2 separate regions of the Homo sapiens genome follow, and region 2 is linked to region 1. The links are contacts of gene promoters, found by promoter capture Hi-C in blood cells and fetal thymus (Javierre and others, 2016). All regions are on one chromosome and are shown on one strand. The core of a region is centred on a gene start or on the middle of the fragment in contact, and the rest is flanking DNA. Distances in the headings are between cores, read along the strand shown. Region 1 holds the start of RAPH1 (Ras association (RalGDS/AF-6) and pleckstrin homology domains 1). Region 2 has its middle 51 kb from the start of CD28.

What was found. The method cuts DNA at HindIII sites, captures the fragments that hold promoters and counts their contacts. A CHiCAGO score of 5 or more calls a contact.
Region 2: a fragment that was not itself captured here is called in contact with the fragment with the promoter of RAPH1 in region 1 in 1 of 17 cell types (M0 macrophages); the score reaches 5.5 in M0 macrophages.

The regions. Positions count from the first base shown.
Region 1 is chr2:203,532,253-203,539,883 of GRCh38, reverse strand. It overlaps RAPH1 (Ras association (RalGDS/AF-6) and pleckstrin homology domains 1), which reads left to right and starts at 4,583. Exons shown (of 14, transcript NM_213589.3): 1 at 4,583-4,773. RefSeq lists silencers at 4,435-4,504, 4,555-4,644, 4,715-4,814. The HindIII fragment of the contact is 18,695 bases long and covers 1-6,535 here.
Region 2 is chr2:203,651,692-203,659,322 of GRCh38, reverse strand. No RefSeq gene overlaps it. Among named protein-coding and RNA genes, the nearest start is that of CD28, 51 kb to the left of the region's middle. The HindIII fragment of the contact is 1,736 bases long and covers 3,154-4,889 here.

The sequences.
Region 1 (7,631 bases), core at 3,334-5,833:
CTAGATGAATATTCTATTTAGTTAGGCAATTTAATTTTATAAGTCTCCTGTTCAATTATCAGAAAGATCATATGAAGGTGATAATCGGTCCCACTTCTCCAATGTACAAATCTTTTTATCTTATGTAAAATATTAACCATTAAAAATTAGCATATCTTTAAAAATGACTGATTGGAAACATCATTTAAAACGATATATTCCATAATTTTTTATTCCTCTCCCCATGATTGGTGGAAGGTGCTGGAATTGAGTTTGTAACTCATAAAGCAGTATGTACTGGAAAGAGAATGTGACTGGGGTCAGAAGATACTGGACCTTAGTCCAGTATCTTCTAGTAATAGCTGTTTAACTTTAGACAAGTCACTTCATGCCTTAAGCTACAGCTTCCTTTACTATAAACCAAAAATCTGGTTTAGGTCAGCATTTCCCAAAGTATGTGCTGTGGAACACATGTCTTGTAAGATGTTCCATTGGAAAAAGGGTTTCATGGTTGAATACATTTGGAAAGCGCTTGTATATAATATCTACCTCAGAAATTCCCAGTGCACATTAAAATATTAAAACCACCAGAAATCTCTCTAGTTTAGAAACCCATTGAACTGTCTGGCATTCTCATTTGATTAAAGGAACTTAAAATTTTGAGGGGGAATCACATCTACTAAAATCCTGTGGGACTAGAGTTCCAAAGAACACTTGGGGAAATGATGGACTAAGATGCCTGGATTTATGGTACTATTCTTTCTCATACAGGTATTCAGCCAGTTCCCTGAAACCTGCTCTTTTCCCACGCTCTTTATTTCAGAGGTCACCACCATTCAGTCACTCTTCTAAACCAGAATCCTGAGAGTCATTCTAAATGTCTCTGTTGCATTCACTCCCTCATATCCAGTTATATATTCTGTAGATTCTACCTGTTTAATATATCTCCCATCTAGTCCCTCCTCGCCATTTTATGACCTCTTGATTTTATTGAGACCTGCAGCACACATCTCATTAGGATTCAGGTTGTTGCCATCACCTCCTAATTTTCTCCTGCTCCAGTCTGGTCTTCTTGGTCTCCAAAACACAAACTCAGTTGTTCTGGAGCTAAAATACTTCAAATATTTTATTATTTACTACATTTCCCAGAGTATCAAATTCAAATTCCTTAGTTTAACAAGAGCCCCTTCATGAATGAAGCCCTTCCTACCCTTTCCTCCAACCTCTTTGACTCTTCTCTATGCCTGTTCTGACAAAATGGAATTACTTACTAATACGGTTTGTCTCTGTGTCCCCACCCAAATCTCATCTTATAGCTCCCATAATTTCCACCTGCTGTAGGAGGGACCCAGTGGGAGATAGTTGAATCATGGGGGTGGGTCTTTCCCGTGCTGTTCTCATAATAGTGAATAAGTCTCATGAGATCTGATGGTTTTAAAAATGGGAGTTTCCCTGCACAAGCTCTCTTTTTGCCTGCTGCCATCCATGTAAGATGTGACTTGCTCCTCATCACCTTCTGCCATGATTGTGAGTCCTCCCCAGCCATGTGGAACTGTAAGTCCATTAAACCTCTTTTTCTTCCCAGTCTCAGGTATGTGTTTATCAGCAGCATGAAAACGGACTAATACACTTACGGTGCCTCTAAAGCATGGTGATGCTTGGTGCTTCCACACACCTGCAGAGATATTGTTTTCTTCGTTTGGAATGCTTGTTCCCTCCTTCTTCTGGTTAGCTCCTCCCTATCATTTAACATTCAGTTCAAGAATCTCCCCATCAGGAAGGCTTTCCTGATCTGGTAATGGACTTCCAGTCTAACAATGACTTCCTTACCTGCTTTACCCACTAGACTGTATGCTTTTTGTAGGCAGGAAGCATCATGCCACGTCTTTCTTGTCTTTGTATTCCTGGGCCTTAATTGTAGCTTAATAAACTCTGATTGAATGAACGAATGATTTAATGGTTTAAAGAAACTGATGAGAACACTCTTTTCTCAATGACTGAAAGTGACCTTTTTTCTCTTTTAATTAACCTTGATCTTAGGCTAAGCACTTGGAGAAGAGTTGGCTAAGACCTATGTAAAAGGCACTCAATGGTCTATTTTTTTTTTTTTTCTGAGATGGAGTCTCACTCTTGTCACCCAGGTTGGAGTGCAATGGCAGGATCTTGGCTCACTGCAAGCTCCACTCCCAAGTTCAAGTGATTCTCCTGCCTCAGCCTCCTGAGTAGCTGGGATTACAGGCACCCGCCACCATGCTCAGCTCATTTTTGTATTTTTAGTAGAGATGGGATTTCACCATGTTGGCCAGGCTAGTCTCCAACTCCTGACCTCAGGTGATCCGCCCACCTCAGCCTCCCAAAGTGCTGGGATTACAGGTGCGAGCCACCACTCCTGGCTTCAATCGTCTATTTTTTTAAGGAGGTTTAAATGAATCATCTTCCTTGTAAGGTATCACACAGCCTAGTACATTTAATGACAATAGGATTCATTAAGTTTGGCACCCAGGTGTGTCTAATGTCAACAAACTTGGTCACAAGGGAAATGAGGTGAAAGACTAGATACATTTGTATAAAATTATCACTTATGAAAAATTTTAAAGCATTTATTAATTTATAAATACTTATTGTGCAAGATACTATGCTAGATATTGTGGGAGATACAAGGATGAATAAAGTGTTGTATTATATTCACTTTTGGAGGATAACTTCTTGAAATAATTAGGTGGCAAATGATGATTCCCACAAGAAAGGAAGAGAAGTCTAAAAGAAGTTGGTCAGCAGGATCATCTTCATTTATAAGAGATAGTATTATTCTTTTATTATTTTTATTTTTTATTATACTTTAAGTTCTAGGGTACATGTGCACAACGTGCAGCTTTGTTACATATGTATACATGTGCCATGTTGGTGTGCTGCACCCATTAACTCATCATTTACATTAGGTATATCTCCTAATGCTATCCCTCCCCCCTCTCCATCCCCCCAACAGGCCCCTGTGTGATATATTCCCTGCTTTGTGTCCAAGTGTTCTCATTGTTCAAGTCCCACCTATGAGTGAGATCATGTGGTGTTTGGTTTTCTGTCCTTGCGATAGTTTGCTGAGAATGATGGTTTCCAGCTTCATCCATGTCCCTACAAAGGACATTAACTCAACCTTTTTTATGGCTGCATAGTATTCCGTGGTGTATATGTGCCACATTTTCTTAATCCAGTCAAGAGATAGTATTATTCTATACAAGAATATTGACATACCTACTGAACTTAAAATACAAAAGGGCAGTTATGTTTCAAAAGTACAGATATCTCAAGTGTGAAAGGCAGCCAGTATCTGTATTGTATGGTTCTAAATACCAATTTGAAACAGATTGTGTACCAGTTTGGAACAGATTGTACAAAAAAGACTGAAACCACTTGAAAGTCCTCAAGAATATCAGGAAGTAAGAATGTAATTAACCAAACCAGGATTTGGCCCCAGGACAGAGAAATGAACACTCTCATTCTTAGAGAGGGAGCTAGGATTTCAGGAATGTACAGTCAATGCTTTGTGAAAATTTAAATAAATTCTTAGCAAGCAGATGGGAAGACATGAAAAAGCAATGTTCATTGCAACCAATTTCAGGTCACACTCCCAATTTCTCAATTGTTTTAATGCTGTCAACAAACTTGCTTTGCATGTAGCCAAGCAAACATAACTTAGTTCCATTTGTTCCTTTCTTTGATCAACTTTAGGTGAAGGTCAAAATAAGGACATACTTAAAATCTAAAAGTCTGCCGAAGTCAAGCCTGCATCTAAAGAGGCAGCAGCTGAGCTTAGCGATAAGGAAAAATGCCGACACCTTACTACTACACAATTCCGATGGGGTGGGGGGACAGAAATTAAGGAGGCAGGATTAACAGATTTCGAAGTTTAAAAAGTAAAGGTCATCGAAATGTCCCGTTCCTAAGTTTCCCAATACATTCCATGAAACTGCAGAGACTTTTTGGCCAAAATGGGATTTCCTAAAGAAGGGCCTCACAGATCTCAACGACAATGGTCCTGTAAGTGACCGAGCCAACCCCGGATGCGTTTCTGGAGTCTCTGAATACACGGACAGCGTATAAAGGTGGATGCGTACAGCTCCCTGACAGAACTGCTGGAGGCTGCTGTGCCTCCCAGGGCGCTAGGACAGAGGCTGCTGGGCCGGCTTCCTATGAAAGGCGAGCAGGGGGTGGGGCAGCACTGGGATTTTCCTCCCCACTCATTCATTCTCTGATTCACTCGTTCCTGTAGGCGGCTCACAGGGACTTGCGGAGGAAAGGCGAGGCACGAGCGGAGCCGCGGTTGAGTGCGGCCGGGCGCGGCCGGGCGCCTGAAGGGAGGGCGGAGGGCCGGCGCGGGGCGCGGGCTAGGGAAGGGCGGCGGGCGCGGCGGCCTGCGCCGGAAGTGAGTGGTTGGCGGCGGGCGGGGGCGGCGCGCGGTCCCGCGCGAGTCGGCCCTACAGTCGGCAGTCCGGCCCTCAACCCCGCCTTCTGCGTCTCGGCTGGACGCGAGCACACTCGGCTCCGCCGCCGCCGCCGCCGCCGCGGGGCGCTGCGGCCGCCCCGCCCCCGCTCCCGCCGCCGCCCGCCAGTCAGTCAGTCAGTCAGTCAGTCAGTCAGTCAGTCAGTCACTGAGCGCGCGGCGCGGGAGCTGCTGGCAGTCGCTGCGTCTCTGGCGAGGGAGCGCCGCGCCTGGGGAGGAGGCGGAGGCAGCGGCTGGAGGAGCGCGAGCGGCGGTTTCCTTGCCCGGGGCCGCGGGAAGGCCGACCGACTGCCGCGGTGAGTGGTTAGCCTCGCCCTCGGGGCCAGGGGGTAGGGAGCCGGCTGGGCGCGGGGCCGTGAGGCGCTCCTGCCGCTCCCGCCTCCATTTTCCCGGCGCCCGGCCCCGCCATCCGGGTGCGGTACGGTCGGCGGCAGCCTGGGGCGGGGTCGTTGCCAGGTTGGGGATCGGGCCGGGGCTGGCTGGACCGCTCCCGGCTGGTGGATGGAGGTCGGTGGGGCCTGGACTGCACCCTGCGCCCCTGGGGACCGCGACGGAGGGAGACAATGAGATAAGGGGCCGCCTGGGAGGGTGCGGTTAGGCTTCTCCGACCCAGCACCGGGGGCTGGTGGCCCGGGACCGCAGGGAGGAAAGGACTTTCCCCCGCCCAGCTGCAGAAACCAGCTACTGGATGTCGGGTTGCTTGGGTTTCGATGCCCCCATCTTTCATAGATGAGTTCAGTGCAGAGATTTTGAAAGGCGGGGCTCCTTCTGTGTCTTCTTTCTAATTAAACAGGATAAGTAATTGCTTCATTGCTTTTTAACCGCGTCTCCTCTTGCGGTCTGTATTATACATTCCCGCCGGAAATCCAAACTGCAATTCATGGGGGGGGGGGGGGGGTGGACGGAGGGAGGGGGCAGTGTGATAGTATTAGGATGCCTTCGTGTTAAGACAGGTTGAAAGATGTGGTTTTCTTAAGGCAGTGACTTAGGGTGTCCCCACTGTGTGAGCTGGAAACCGCATAAACCTTATTGCTTACAAGCTCGAAGACATGGTTTAATATGAAATAAGAGCCTTGAGGGAGGGTGTAAGTGTTACATGTGTCTTGCGTGTGTGCATTTCTTAAATTCTTTGGGAAGATCCGTTGGGGAAATCCGGGAGAATGGAAAAGTTCTTCACTCAATCTTCCAATAAGGGTTGATGTTGTCTGCAGCATTTCTCAGGGAAATGTGGAGAGCTGCTTATGTAGGTAAAGTCCACCGTTAAGGAACAGTAAAGGTAACGGGTTAGGGATGAGGCGTGATCGGATTATTAAAGAGTCAGTCCATGGGGATATTAAATTCAGCAAACATTTATGGAATACCTACTCTGTCAGTTAGGCTGGGTGACACCAGGTGAACAAGCATGGGGTGGTGGAAAGAGCTCTTCGGAGTGGGGGAAACCGTACGCCCTGGAATTGGCTTGCAATGTGAGTTGGATAAGCTATTGAACTCTGCAGTACGTTCCCTATCAGTAAAATGGGAATAACACCACCTGTTTACCTCCCCAGATGTTTTTCATGTAGATTAAATGAGATAATGTATGCAAAATGCGTAGCACCTTGCCTGGCATAGAGGTGTTTAACAGCACCTTAAATTCCTTTCCTCCTCGGGGTGGTTTTTTTGGGGGTGCGGTGCGGGGGGTTAGTGAATGTAGGTAAGTGTAATACAGTGAACTATATAGTAAAATGTTGAGGTATAGAATAGGAGAGCGAAGAAGAGAGATTAATTCTAAATTGAGGGAGGAATGCATGGAAGCCTCGGCATTTAAGTGAAACCTTTAAGGATGAGTAGGATTTCAGCAGATTCAGATGGGGAGGAGGACATTTCACATGGTGGTGCTATCCTTTGAGAGCCGAATTGAGGGGGAGGACCTTTGGGGGAGGGGCAAAATAGAGACGCTCAATAGCTTTTAACTCTTGTTGAGTCTGACCTTCAAAGATTGTCTCCGTTATTTTGCTTTTTGTGTGGTGAATTTCCCAGAAACCAGATGCAGCCCTACTCAAGTAAGTACAAAAAGCTTAATTCATGATTTTTTGGGTTAGACATTTTGTATAATTTAGATTGCTGTCTCCTGTTTGAATGTAATAAAGAATTATTTGTAGATGTTGCCTTATGATAAACGTTAGCTTTATTTGGTAGAAGCAGCAGCTTATTTTTCAGACTCAGAGGTCTCACTAAGATTATAGAGTATGTGACTGGGTGAAAGGAGTGGAGTAGTGGGCACTATTGGGTGTGTTTTCACAAATATTTAACTCTTTATTTTCCAAAGAGGTGTTTTTAACCATTGTCTTTGAGGATGATTATGTCTTTTGGTTTTGCTGCCCTTTGGTGCTCACCCCATAAATACTTACTAGATTGGCATCGTGGATAACTGTCACACTATTCACAGATTCTTGGTTACACATTGTAGAATCTCATGGCTTTGGTTGCCTTGGTTTGGAAGTAATTGAATGTCAACATTAGTATTGTTAATCCCAAACACTTAATTTTAGGAAAATTAATATTAGTGAAGCAAGATGTGACCTCAGGCAGATAACTTATCTTGGACTCTTAATTCCTTTACCTATAAAATGAGAAGTTTGGATTAGATCACTGCTTCTTAAACTGTTTCACTGAACTTGAGAATTTCAGAGATTCTGCAGATGTTTGACTTTAATCTCAATAAAAATGTATTTTAAACTTATAATAATAAAAAGTGGCCACTGTATGACGTACACTGTTTTAAACACTTTATATGTGATAATTTATTTAATTCTCGCCATAACCCTATGAAATAGAGTCTATTATTTGAGAAAATAGGCACAGACAATAAGTTGCCCAAAGACTGCAGAGCTATAGTGGCAGAGCTGGATTTGAAACCGGGCAGCCTAATTCTTAAGCTTGTATTCTTAACCATGTTTTTACACTGCCACTAAAGCAACACACACATATACTCTTTGAAAGAAATGTGGTAAAGTATGCATAACATACAAATTACCATTTTAACTATTTTTAAGTGTACAGTTCAGTGGCTTAAGTACATTATTGTGCCATCATCACCACCATCTCCAGAAATTTTTTATCATCCCAAACTGAAATTCTTCCCATTAAACAGTAATTCTACAAGCCACAGTGC
Region 2 (7,631 bases), core at 2,772-5,271, 120 kb before region 1:
CTCCTGCATCAGCCTCCCAAGTAGTTGGGATTACAGGCACTCACCACCACACCTGGCTAATTTTGTATTTTTTTTTAGTAGAGATGGTGTTTCACCATGTTGGCCAGACTGGTCTCAAACTCCTGACCTCAGGTAATCTGCCCGCTTCAGCCTCCCAAAGTTTTTTTTTTTTTTTTTTTTTTTTTTTATGAAGTCTCACTCTGTCGCCCAGGCTGGAGTCAATGGTGCGATCTCAGCTCACTGCAACCTCCGCCTCCTGGGTTCAAGCAATTCTCCTGCCTCAGCCTCCCCAGTAGCTGGGACTCCAGGCGTGAGCCACCATTCCCGGCTAATTTTTATATTTTTAGTAGAGACAGGGTTTCACCACAGTGGCCAGGCTGGTCTTGAACTCCTGACCTCATGATCCGCCCACCTCAGCCTCCCAAAGTGCTGGGATTACAGGCGTGAGCCACCACGCCCAGCTTCTATATGTTCTTTTTACACGTTCTCACTTTCACTATTGCCTTCTGTCTGGATTGTTCCAAAAGTCAAGAGATGGTTCTACATATCCAGTCTCCTTCTTTCCTGACCCCCAATATACCCTATACACTGCTTCCAAAGTAACCCTTGAAAATATGGTTCTTTATGGTGTCACTGCCCTGCAAAATGAAGACCCAATACCTTAAGATGCTATTCAAGCCCCTACAAAATGGCCTGCCTCTGACTGCACCTGCTCATGAATTCTTCACTGCAATAATACTGGATGCTTCAACTACCAGAGTACCACATTGCCACTGTCTATGGGTGTTACTTCTACCCAAAATGTTCTTCTCCAACTCTGGAACCCTCTCCACCCATTAAAACTAAGGAACATTTCAAATTCTGCCTCTTCTGTGAAAACTTCCCTGTTCTCTTAGAAATCTCTCCTTTCTCTATGAGACTTAGAACTCAGTGACATTAAGGTAAAGAAATGTCTTTGCAAACTTGCAAATGTGTGTGGAGAGTCTATGTTGCGTCAAACCTTGTATTCAGGATGTAGAGAATACACAGTCCCTGTTTTTCGGGAACTTCTGCTTCTTGGGGATAGAGAATGCTTAGCATACTAAATTATAACCGTGGCCAGGTGCGGTGGCTCATGCCTATAATCCCAGCACTTTGGGAGGCCGAGGCAGGCGGATCACCTGAGGTCAGGAGTTCGAGACCAGCCTGGGCAACATGGCAAAACCCTGTCTCTACTAAAAATACAAAAATTAGCTGTGCATGGTGGCAGGCACCTGCAATCCCAGCTACTTGGGAGGCTGCGGCAGGAGAATCGCTTGAACCCGGGAGGCGGAGGTTACAGTAAGCCAAGACATGCCATTGCACTCCAGCCTGGGTGACAGAGCAAGACTCTGTCTCAAAAAAAAAAAAAAAAAATTGTAACCATGTGTGCATTCTGTGCTACAGATACAGGGAAGGGGCACTGAACCCAGCCTGGGGTGTCAGGATGACTTTCCAGAGGAGCAACACTGGAATTGAAGAAAGAACAGTTGTCCAGACAGAGATAGGCGTGAAGAACATTTCAGAAGTAAAACATCACATATGGAAAGGCATGAGAAACCATGTTCCATTTCAGGAATTCAGGTAACTCAGTTGCCTGAAGTATAAAGTACATAGGGGGCCAGGCACTGTGGCTCAAGCCTATAATCCCAACACTTTGGGAGGCCGAGACGGGTGCATCACCTGAGGTCTGGAGTTCGAGACCAGCCTGGACAACATGGTGAAACCCCATCTCTACTAAAAATACAAAAAAATTAGCCAGCCATAGTGGCAGGTGCCTGTAATGCCAGCTACTCAGGAGGCTGAGGCAGGAGAATCGCTTGAACCCGGGAGGCAGAGGTTACAGTGAGCCAAGATCGTGCCACTGCACTCCAGCCTGGACAACAGAGGAGAACCCTGTCTCAGTAAAATAAAATAAAAGGCATGGGGGAGGCGGGACAAGAAGCTAGAAAGGCAGGGACGAGTTGCAAAGAGTCTTGAGTGCCTGTATCAGTTATCTGCTGCAGTGGTGCTGCATAAAAATCATCCCAAAACTGCGGCTTCAAATAATAGCCATGCCTGGTGTGGTGGCACCCACCTATAATCCCCGCTACTCCGGAGGCTGAGGCGGGAGGATCACTTGAGACCAGGAGGTCAAGGCTACGGTGAGCCATGATTGCACCACTGCACTCCAGCATGGGTGACAGAGCAAGACCCTATCTCAAAAGGCCATTTATTCTTGCTTATAAATCTGTGGGTCAGCAGAATGGTTCCTCTGGCTTGAACTGGGGTCATGTAGGCATATGCAGTCAGAGTGTGCATTGAGAAACACTCCTGCTGATCTTGGCAGAGCTGTCTCATGTGTTTGGGAGTCAGGGGCTATGAGGGGTTTAGGATGGCCTTGAATCTTCTCCACATGTGCCTCACATTGGCAGTACGTTAGCCCAGGCATGTCATGTCCTCATGACAAGGAAGAAGTGAAAAAGAGAACACACCCAATCATGCAAGAGGGCAAGAGGAAACGCCTGCGCTTTTCAAGCCTCTGCTTGCATCATGTTTGCTAACATTCCAGCGCCAAAGCAAGTCACATCAATGAGCCCAGAGTCAGAATGGGAGGGAACACAAAGGTTCAGGGCAAAGGCTGTGAAAACTGGGAGGGGCCGTTAATGCAATCAATCTACCATAGTGTAGAGGAGTCTGAATTTTTATACTTAGAGGCATGTTGTCATTCCTATTGATTAGAAACTCTTGAGCAACAGGACTGTATTTTATTCATTACTATATCTGCCATAGCAGTTAGCATAATAATATACCCAAAGTACACATTCAATAAATTTTGGTAGAGTATAACTGAATCCCTAGTTTATACAATAATTTATTATATATACTAGCTGCAAGTTTTCTAAACACTTATCAAGTACATTTATATTTTCAATCTATATCATCCTTGGAGTACAGAGTTCTATCTATTTATTACCTGCTGTGTAAAACAGTAATGCCTGTTCACTGCCTAAACACCACCTCCTTTAAGCTTAGCTGGGCTAATTCTAATGTTGAAAGGGAAGGTGAACAAATATGTGGGTTTTTTCCCCAGTCTTTCCGAATTTTGCAAATTTCAAACTGGCCCTCCCTCTTCCATAAAAAAGACTTCAAGCTTCTTGGCCTGTCTTCCAATTGTTTAAACAAAGATTTTTCTCTCTACTGGAGCAATTAAAACGGCCCCCATGATGGCAGAGGAAATGCTTTGGTTTGGTTTGAGGCTTCCCAAACATCATTACAGACTAAGGACACCAAATATGTAGCTGACAGCAAAACAGTTTATAATTATGCACCAAGAAACAACCCACCGAAATCCCCATTCTATGCATAGCCTGTCTCCCTGTGCCCTCATTCCTATCTCCACAATCCCACCCACAGTTCTCATCTAGAAAGGCCCAGGGAAATAGCCTTTCTCTGGTCACTAAGTGGTAAATACATTGGAGTCATCTTTGACTCCTCTTTTTTTTTTTTTTTTTTGAGACAGAGTCTCGCTCTGTCACCCAGGCTGGAATGCAGTGGTGCGATCTTGGCTCACTACAACCTCCACCTCCCAGGTTCAAGCAATTCTCATGCCTCAGCCTCCAGAGAAGCTGGGACTACAGGCACGCACCACCACACCTGGCTAATTTTTGTATTTTTAGTAGAGACGGGGTTTCACCATGTTACCCAGGCTGATCTCAAGCTCCTGACCTCAAGTGATCCACCTGCCTTCGTCTCCCAAAGTGCTGGGATTACAGGCATGAGCCACTGCCTCGGCCTGACTCCTCTCTTTCTTTCGCACTCCACGTTCAGTCCAGCAGCAAAGCATGTCAACTCTGTCTTCAAAATACATCCAGAGTCTGACCACCTCTCATCACTGTCACTGCTATTATCCTGGTGCAGACCACCATGAGCTCTCATTTCAATGATCAAAATAGCCTCCTACCCACTTTCCCACCCACCATGTCTTCCACACGATAGCCAAAAACGTACGCCTGATCATGTCATTCCTCTGCTCAAAATCCTCCAGTAGATTCCTCTTACTCAGAATAAGAGCCAAATTCTCACCTCAGTCTGTAAGGACCCACATGATTTCCCTGCACCCTCATCTTATCACCTTCCAGTGCTTTCTTGGCTCACTTTGATCCAGCCAGGAAGATAATGGTCTTCCTGCTGCTCTTGAATGTGCCCACTGTGCTGCCTCCTCAGGGTCTTTGCCTGTGATGTTCTTCAGCCTGGAGTACAGTTGCCACAGACACCCACATGGCTCACCAGTTCCCTGTTCAAATGTCGCCTTATCAGAAATTTTTCCCCACCTACCAGTTATGAATTAGCACTTGTGGCTCCCTCCCCACTTCATTACTCTCGATTCCCTCCTTATTTGGCATGTTATATATTCATTTGTATATTGTTTGTCATTTGCCCTTCCCACTAAAATTTAAGATCAGCGACAGCAGAAACTGATCTGTCTTGTTCACTGTTTTATCCTCAGAAACTAGAATATAGATTAGGTAGATGGTAGACCTTCAACAAATAATTTGAATAAAGTAGCTATGCCCTACCCACACTGCACGTAAGCATTAGGCACAGGCTTATTCTGAATGAAATTTGTTGTGTTTTATTCATTCCTTCTTTTTGATTCATTTCTCCAAACTACCCAGGATTTACATTTGCCTATGATACTAAGAAACTTGAGGAAAATGAATGCTGTAGTATTTAAAAAGGATCAACTTTAGATATTTGCTTTAAGAAAAAGGGAAATAAAGTTTCCAGCCAAATTCCTAAATTAATGTGCATGATAATAAAATAAACTTGCCTAATCTTCCTGGAATCACTTGGGTAATTCCGAACACGGAGCGATAATACCACAAGCTTCTCTAAATGCAAGGCAGACACTTGCAAACCTGAGCTTTTAATACCAAACAAGTGCCAACTTTTTTTTTTTTTTTTTTTTTTGATATGGAGTCTCATTCTGTCGCCCAGGCTGGAGTGTAGTGGCGCGATCTCAGCTCACTGCGTGCTCCGCCTCCCGGGTTCACGCCATTCTCCTGCCTCAGCCTCCTGAGCAGCTGGGACCACAGGCACCTGCCACCACGCCCGGCTAATTTTTTGCATTTTTAGTAGAGATGGGATTTCACCGCGCTAGCAAGGATGGTCTTGATCTCCTGACCTCGTGATCTACCTGCCTTGGCCTCCCAAATTGCTGGGATTACAGGCCTGAGCCACTGTGCCCAGCCCTACAAGTGCTAACTTTTAAGTATATATATAATGTTATTCTCCGCATATCCACACCTCTACATCATCAAACTATAAGAACCCACTGACATTCTGGCACATTATCCAGGCTTCACCAAGCAACCTCATGTCCATACGTCTCCCAGAGCAGCCAACTCTAAGTGGCACTAACTGGAAAAGCAGCCTCGCATTGTCATCCCACAAGGAGAAGGGCAAAGCTCTGCTTTCAGATGCCAGTGTAGGGCCACTGGGCAAGGACCCTCCGATGCTGTTCCAATTTTTTCATTCTGTTCTTCCTTTTTTTTTTTAGACAGCGTCTCACTCTGTTGCTCAGGCTGGAATGCAGTGGTGTGATCTCAGCTAGCTGCAACCTCTGCCTCCCCAGTTCAAGAGATTCTCCTGCCTCAGCCTCCTGAGTAGCTGGGACTACAGGCCTATGCCCCGCTAATTTTTGTAATTTTAGTAGAGACGGGGTTTCACCGTATTAGTCAGGCTAGTCTCGAACTCCTGACCTCAAGTGATCCGCCCACCTTGGTCTCCCAAAGTGCTGGGATTACAGGCATGAGCCACTGCGCCCGGCCTCATTCTGCTCTTCTTTTTATTGTGATTTACTCTTCAGGTATATAAGACAGTGGTTTTCCAGCAGTATGCTATGGCACTCCATTTGTTTGGTAAAATAAATTTTGTAAAATCTATTTTTGCTGCAACTGAGTATACATATGGTTACACTGAGGTCTATCAAGATGCATTCTGCAAAAAGTAAAAGTTGTGGCGTAATGACAGATTGCAGCAAAGAACAATTACATGTTTTCCAAAACATGGAAACACTGTTCCCCAAACATAAAAGAAAACATCTTGGGAGGCCGAGGTGGACAGATCACGAGGTCAGGAGATCGAGACCATCCTGGCTAACATGGTGAAACCCCGTCTCTACTAAAAATACAAAAAATTAGCCAGGCGTGGTGGTGGGCGCCTGTAGTCCCAGCTACTTGGGAGGCTGAGGCAGGAGAATGGCGTGAACCTGGGAGGCAGAGCTTGCAGTGAGTTGAGATCACGCCACTGCACTCCAGCCTGGGCAACAGAGCGAGACTCTGTCTAAAAAAAAAAAAAAAAAAATGAAGACATCAAGGTAAAGGCAGTAAACTGAGCAGTCCTCAAACCTAGATGTGGCGTGGAAAGGGAAGCATAAGAGCTGTACCTTTGCTGTATGTACTTGTATGGATACCATAAGATACTGTTTTATCATATATCATACTGAACATGGTGGTGTAGTTTCAATTCCTTTAAGCCCCTATGTGTGTTGCCAATACTTACAGCACTTGAAAGTGTGCTACAAACACAGGAGATTGCGAGCCTCTAGTATGGCAGAAAGCTTTATACTTGTATGGAAGACCAGAGGAATATATACAGATTTATTCTGATTTAGGTTACCTAAGGGAACTCCCTCACACAGAATATGGAATTAGGGGAAGGCCTAATTTTTTTTTTTTTTTTGAAACAGACTCTTGCTCTATCACCCTAGGCTGGAGTGCAGTGCGCGATCTTGGCTCACTGAAACCTCTGCCTCCCAGGTTCAAGCCACCACACCCAGCTAATTTTTTTGTATTTTTAGTGGGGATGGGGTTTCACCATGTTGGCCAGGCTGGTTTCGAACTCCTGACCTCAAGTGATACACCCGCCTTGGCCTCCCAAAGTGCTAGGATTACAGGTGTGAGCCACCACGCCCAGCCAGGGAAAGCTTAATTTAAGGATGGACTCCGTATTCCACAGACAATTTTCAGAAATAAGTAGTCAAAGAAAATTAGACCAACCTGAAATCTGATGTCTCTATCAGAGGACATTCAATAATCTCGGGAATTATCTTTAGTTTGTGCTTTGAGATGTAACTATCCCTCAGGATTCCAAAAATAAAAGTCAATGGCTATCACAGTGCTTGAAACTCCTAAAAGTGTTACTCCTCCTTCTGCCTCTCTGTCTTTCAACTATGTTTCACCGGAGCATTTATTTTCCTCTGAAGGTTTGTGTCTGAACCAAAGGAAAATGCTGGGACCTCTTTTGGAGAAGTTTTGGCTTCAGTAAATTTTATAAGATAAACAAAAGTGAGACCTTCCCATCTCTGTCAATCATATTCATTCAAAATAACAGCACTCTCCAGGACCGGGGGTTGTGGGGAGGGAAAATGCTGGGGAGAAGGTAATGTCATGAATTGTTCCCCTGCAGCTGGTATTTCTCAGTAACAACTGTACATACAAAACAAAAGATCTCTTCAGAAAGCCAGGGACAGACAGAGAGGCCAATAAGAAGAGATCATTATAATCATATTTTAGAGATCAAACAGCTTGAATTACATTTGCTTGAGCCCAGTTAGGTTTCCTGGTTGT